2 separate regions of the Homo sapiens genome follow, and region 1 is linked to region 2. The links are contacts of gene promoters, found by promoter capture Hi-C in blood cells and fetal thymus (Javierre and others, 2016). All regions are on one chromosome and are shown on one strand. Each heading gives the region's core, a stretch centred on a gene start or on the middle of the fragment in contact. The rest is flanking DNA. Distances are from core to core; before and after follow the strand shown.

The links. Contacts are between HindIII fragments. The CHiCAGO score rates a contact against its expected background, and 5 or more counts as called.
Region 1: a fragment that was not itself captured here is called in contact with the fragment with the promoter of PPFIA2 in region 2 in 1 of 17 cell types (neutrophils); the score reaches 6.3 in neutrophils.

Annotation. Positions count from the first base shown.
Region 1 is chr12:82,113,031-82,116,548 of GRCh38, forward strand. No RefSeq gene overlaps it. Among named protein-coding and RNA genes, the nearest start is that of LINC02426, 160 kb to the left of the region's middle. The HindIII fragment of the contact is 9,705 bases long and covers 1-3,518 here.
Region 2 is chr12:81,757,777-81,761,174 of GRCh38, forward strand. PPFIA2 (PPFI scaffold protein A2) reads right to left here and starts at 1,574. Exons shown (of 33, transcript NM_003625.5): 1 at 1,504-1,574; 2 at 624-731. RefSeq lists an enhancer at 434-1,372. The HindIII fragment of the contact is 5,625 bases long and covers 1,134-3,398 here.

The DNA of each region.
Region 1 (3,518 bases), core at 182-2,681, 360 kb after region 2:
TGGAACCAAACCGAAAACATCTCTTTGGTATGCTTGTATTTACATATATATATATATATATATATATATATATATATATATATATATATATACACACACACACACACACACACACACACACACTAAATACATGTACACATATTTATATATTTTATATACATATCAATTTTTCCATAAAATAAATATAACTGATAGATATGTTATAAATATATGTATGCATATGTAATACTAGTAACAATAGTTAACGTTTATTTAATGCTTACCCAATGCCCTAGGTTCTATTTTAAGCTAGTTACATGCATAATTTCATTAACTTTCCCAATAACTTTGTAAGTTATATAGTATTATTATATCAATACCACATACTAAGTAATTGCTTACATTCACATAGCTCATATGTAGTGAAACCAGGATTTGAACTTAACAAAAGAGAGAAAACAGGTAAGTTTAACAAACAATGGTCAAAAGAAAAAAAAAAAAAACAGAAAAAAATTGGTGTAAATAAGCTATTCACCATCAAAATATATATTTAAAATTTTTTAAAAATTGCAAAATGAGACATAAGGAAAAGATTTTTATATGTGTTCTTAAGAATCAGCCATAGATGTCACCTTGTAATTAATTCATAATGGTAAACTCGGTGGTTAGATCTAATAACTGTTGTGTTTCCCATTTCAGCACAAATGCAAGTGTTGAATATTAAATCAAAGGAAAACATTATCCGGCTAAATACCATGCCTTCTATTTTTAGCATGTAAACAGATTTCTTCTGCATAATGTTAAAATGAACACAAGTTTCTTGCTTCTCTTATTTGAAGAACATAATTTTAGACAGTCTGATTTCCTTTTTTACCATTGTATGAAAAAATAAATTAATTGTTTGAAAAGCTCCTCTTCAGTGGAGTTCTCAAAATACATAAACACACGCATACACACACATTGCCATTATGAAGGAGTGTATAATATTGAAAATCTATTTGCATTTATATTATAGGGAAAGGCTAACAATAAAATAAAGTATATCATTCATGAAAATTTCTAAAACACTGATGATGTAGATAGCACTCAAGTAGTTATACAAGTAGTAAAATCCATTGGTTAGTTATTTAAGTATGCTACACACATTTTATGAGGCTTAATGATATGAAATACGCTTAAAATTTGAATTTACATGTATTACTTAGCAATTGATTTCTTAAAATGTTAAGAAAATCAAAGAAAGATTTAAAGAACACCAATATTTATTTTAAACTAAAAATGGACAGATTTTCAAACAATTTGTTACCATGAAACAGTATATCAGCTAGAATTAATTTTACTGTGTATGTTAGAAAATTCAAAATAAAAGTGCCTTTTTAAAAGACACAGAGAGCACACTAACCATAAAGGAAAATTGGTAAATTGAACACTAACAACATTTTAAAACTTCTGCTTATTAAAATCCATTAAGAGAATAAGCAGAGGAATTACAGACTGGGGGAAAATTTTTTAATACCTTTATTTGACATATTACTCACATCCAGAATATAGATATATATTTTTTGACCATTTAAAAATTGAATTGTCTGTCTTTAAAAAATATTAAGAACAAAATTCTAATTTTTTAAATGGGCAAAAAATATGAGCAGACACTTCAGACAAGAACATACACAAAAGGCCAATACACATGGAAAGTGTTCAACATTATTAGATATAAGTTATATGTAAATCAAAACCACTAAAGATACCAGTATACTTCCACTAATGCAGTTAAAATTAAAGGTATTAACAATATCAAATGTTGGAAAGCCACCAGAACCCCCCCAACATTGCTGGTGAAATGAAAAATAGGGCTGGGCGCGGTGGCCACGCCTGTTTAATTCCAGCACTTTGGGAGGCCGAGGCGGGCGGATCACGAGGTCAGGAGATCGAGACCATCCCGGCTAAAACGGTGAAACCCCGTCTCTACTAAAAATACAAAAAATTAGCCGGGCGTAGTGGCGGGCGCCTGTAGCCCCAGCTACTCGGGAGGCTGAGGCAGGAGAATGGCGTGAACCCGGGAGGCGGAGCTTGCAGTGAGCCGAGATATCGCCACGGCCCTCCAGCCTGGGCGACAGAGCGAGACTCTGTCTCAAAAAATAAATGAATAAATAAATAAATAAATACAAAAAAAAGAAAATGAAAAATAGTACCACTTTGGAAAACTGCTTGGCAGTCTCTTTAAGACTTAAAGATTGGCCTGAAGTTTTTTGTTGTTGTTGTACCTCCGCCAGGTTTTAGTATCAGAATGATGCTGGCCTCATAAAATGAGTTCGGTAGGAGTCCATCCTTTTCCATTTTTGGAATAGTTTCAGTAGAAATGGTACCAGCTCTTCTTTGTACCTCTGGTAAAATTCAGCTGTAAATCTGTCTGGTGCTGGGCTTTTTTTGACTGGAAGGCTATTTATTACTGCCTCAATTTCAGAACTCATTATTGGTGTATTCAGGAATTTAGTTTCTTCCTGGTTCAGTCTTGGGAGGATGTTTTGTGTCCAGGAAATTATCCATTTCTTCCAGATTTTCTAGTTTATGTGCATAGAGGTGTTTACAGTAATCTCTGATGGTTGTTTGTATTTCTGTGGGGTCAGTGGTAATATCCTTCTTATCATTTCTGATTGTGTCTGTTTGATCAGAAATCAGTAAGCCAGATGGGGAAAATCACTGGGAAGGGACAAGAGGAAACGTTCTTGGTTGATGGAAATGCTCTGTATCTTGATAGTGGTATAGGTTACCTGAGTGTATAAATGTGTCAAAACTGATCACACTGTACACATAGGATCACTGAATTTCATTGCATATACATTATATCTTAATATACAAAAAATTAAACAGATTTCTCTTCCCTCCCTTTCTTATATAACAGGATTCAAAGAAAACATAATGCAGAAATTTGCTTTCTCCAGGAAGCCGATTCTAAGACAGAGTTTAGTGTACAAAGTGTTTATTTGGGATCTACACCGGTGGAAGGGAAAAGGAAGAAGCAGAATTGAACAACAGGAGAATCTGAATGTAGTGCAGGCTCAACAGTATCATCTGACCCCACAGGGACCTCTCACGCTGAAATGTCCTATCAGTATTGTCCCCCATTGAGTCTAAGTAGTCAAACTTTTGTATCTCTACTCCAGTAAGCCATGGGATGTGGGATACTCCCAGAGAAGTGTGGCCTTAGATGAGCTGACTCTATAACTGAAGCAGTCTCTAAAAGGGCCAACAGCTGACCGCATCTACTGACAGCATTCTCAGCACCTGGGACAAGAAGTCCTTTATTAAAGAGGGATCTGGAAGGCACATCTAGGCATACCCATGTCCAGCACAGTTAGGATTGCCATTTTTAGCAAATAAAAATTTAATATACCTAGTAAAATTTGAATTTCAGATACACTTTTGTATTGTAAGTATGAACATTTCTTATGCAATACTTATACCAAAAATTATTTGTTGATTATCTGAAATTTAAATTTAATGTAGTATTCTGTATTTTATCCATCAACCCAAAACAC
Region 2 (3,398 bases), core at 324-2,823:
TTTTTTCTTTTTTCTGTCAACAAATGACTTTATTTAATCATATCACTAGGAATTCGGCCCTACTAGAGGTAAGAATGTAATTATTATCCATAGTGAGTTTCTTCTGAAAACATTTAGTCTTAAGAACCATCCCAGCTCCACCTCAGTTAACCTACAAGGAGTAATTCAGTGAGAGAAATCCTAGCCATTGTCTGATTACATTACATGAATATTCTCCCTCCTATTTAACTCTTTGAAAGCCTCTGTCCTCGGGAAATATGATTATCACCTTTAATGGACACATTTTACACTTTCTTTACCCTAGTGCATTTACGGACAGCCAGAGCCAGCTCAACCCACACTACTGGACAGTTATCTCTCAGCCACACCCCCCACCACCTTGAAGAAGTTGACTTCATCATTTCCACACTAAAATTGTTCATCCTGCCCAACAGGACACAGCCAAGTAGGCAGGAGGTAGAGAGATAGGAGATGGAGAGGATGAGGTGAAAGCAAAAGGCACCTAACGGTAATCAACAAGGAGGAATTTGCATCTCATCTTCCCTGGGGGCGGGGTGGGGCCGGGGAGGTGGTCAAAAAATACAGCGAAAGGAGACAGTAAAACTCAAAGACAGCTTCTGTACCTAATGTCTGTGATTTCGGGTCCTTGCTTCTTCAATTGATCAATGACAACCGCAGTCTCCGGCTTGAGGAGAAGGGAGGCTCACACCCAGCACTCCTGGACCATTTCCCTAGCAACGGGAGGAGAAAGGCAGCTCAGACACACGCGTGCCCCGGCGCCCTCCCGGAACGTGCCCCGGCCCGGTGGCGTGGCAGGAGCTCGGCATCTTCCCGTGGCTCCGTCAGCAGCCAAAAGGAGAAGCGTCCATCGGAAAAATGGCATATTACAAATTTTGCTTTGGGAAGCAAAGCTCGGTTCAGACCATTGTCAAAGGAGGAGAGGGGGAGGCGGCTCTTAAAGCAGCCGCGGCCCCTTTGCCAGAACAGCCGCAGCTCCCCGCGTGCAGCTGGAGCCCCGGGGCGGAGACCGGAGACCGGGGACTGGGTTTGACTTTCAGAAACTTAACCACGCGGCGCCGCTCCCCCTCCGCGCCCGGGCCACCCGGGGTGTGTGGGGCGTCCCTCCAAAAGAAAGCTTGGAGAAAAGGCGTGAGAAGTATCTGGGAGAGAAGTTCTCCACCCAGTCTCCCCTCCTGGAGCCCCTCTGGAGTTTAAGGCTAACCCTGGGAGTTAGAAACCTAAAGGAAAACGAGTCCCTAGGGATGCAAAAAGCAGGACAGGTCTCCTCCTGGCCCCCAGCCTGTTTCCGCGCGCTCCCGTGTCTCGTTTCACTTAAAGGAGGCGCTTTTTCTCTGGAAAGGCAAACATCACCCCACGCCGTCCCCCGGCCCCCCTTCCCTCCCCCCCGCCGCCCCCCCGCCGCCACAGCACACACACCCATTTTTCTCCTCCCGGCCTTTCTGCAAGCCTCTTTGCTTGCTTCAATTGGCCGGAAGAACCAACCTGCTGGCAGCCGGTGAGGACGCTACAGCATCTTCTCTCCTCACTTGCCTCGTGCGGTGGCTGCTACTCCTCCTCCTCCGTCTCCTCCCCTCCTCCTCCTTGGCAGCCACCACCTCCTCTTCCTCTGGAACAAGGGCTTCCCCTGGAAGCTGCTGCAGTGGTTTCCACCGGCCCTTAAATAAATTCTGAAGTAATCACGTCTTTGCTCTCCTCCTCACGCACACGCGCCCGCGGATACACTCGTCTCCCCCAGAGCCGCTCCCGGGCTGCCGAGGCTCGCTCTGCTCCCAGTGCCCCCTGCGAAGGCGAGGGCCAGGGATGGGCAAAGTGGGAAGGGGGCACACGCTTCCCCGCCTGGGCTTCTTTCACACAATGGGCTCTACAGCCTTCGCTTGTGTCAGCCTGCGCTGGTGGGGATGGGAACGGACTTGGGCACCTTTTGGCTCCCCGGTCTTCTGTGCTTGTCATTTCTTTAAGCAGCTTTCTTCCCACTGGGCCAGGGCATGGTAGTCATGGTTGTAGGGACCTGAGCCAATCTAGGGTGTGGCGGCATCTGTCATTTCTCATTACCTCTTCAGTTCTTCTTCATTCATATTGTTTTGGTAATGGGAATTGTATGTTAAGTATTCCCTGCCCGAGTAAATTTTAGCTTTGAGCAGAGTCTGGTCTCTCCATCGCGCTCCAGTCCCCCTTATATCTCCACCTCCCTTTACCTACCCTCTTTTCTTTCCGTTGCTGCTGTCCATTCATACAGACTGAGGAAGCAGGAGACAAAATCAGTACCTACTCTGAGCAGAAAGGGAACGTTTCTGTGAGGGAGAGTCACGAATCCTGCTGGGTTTGGTGAAAATGAAGAGGACATGCATGAAGGAATTGGAGGATTAAACACTGAATATATTTTGGGGGTTACTGAAAATATTCTGAGTGTGCTACACGAAAGCCAAAAGACGTGTTTTACTTTTGTGTAACGCCAAGAGTCCAAAGTTAACAAAGAACTAGTATGTAAATAACTGTTCACTTAAAATTAACTACAATATCCAAGAAACAATCTTTGTTTCTGAGGGAAGTATTTAATTCAGTTAGCGACTTTACAATGGAAAGTGGGGTAAAGCTCATGTATTTACCCAACTTCTATTCTAGACTGTTATTTAAATTTTACAACACAACACAATCCTATAAGAAGTATAAAAATAATACGAAAATTCATTAGATGTCAACTGGAGCACTATTTCTCAGACATAATGTGCATACAGATCATCCATGGATCTTGTTAAGTTGTAGATACTGATTCACCAGGAATGGGGTGAAACCTGAAATTCTACCCTTCTAATGACTCCCAGATGGTACTACACTTGAGGAGGAAGGGTCTAGACCACCCAATCGACCCACAATTTGATGTGGCTTAAATACCCCTAACTACAGGAAACTCTTCACCTCACAGGATAGCCTAGTCTATTTTCAGACAAACTTCATATTGTAATAGCTTCAACATACTAATCATATATCAGTACTCATAACTTTCACTCTCTAGAATTCTACACAAAACATAAAAATTCCTTATACATGAGAGATATTCTTATTTTTACATATAGCTATTATGTCTATTTTTACAAGAATTCCTTCCTTATTAAACCTTGGTTTGAATTTCCTTGGCAATCAACGTTTGTTAATTACTGGCTCAGATGTTCCTACTGTTTCCAAGAAGAGTTTTGATTTCCTTGAGTCCCATTCGTATGTCAAATACAAGTTTTAATTGTAAGTATAATCCCCACATACAGTTGACACAGCATAGTTAAAGGCTAACCCATGGTAGGTATCGCAGAAAGAAAAACTTTGATAATGGGAGGCAGAAAAAAATATCACGAGTTAAAGGATATTTTGTTAAGAAGATACAG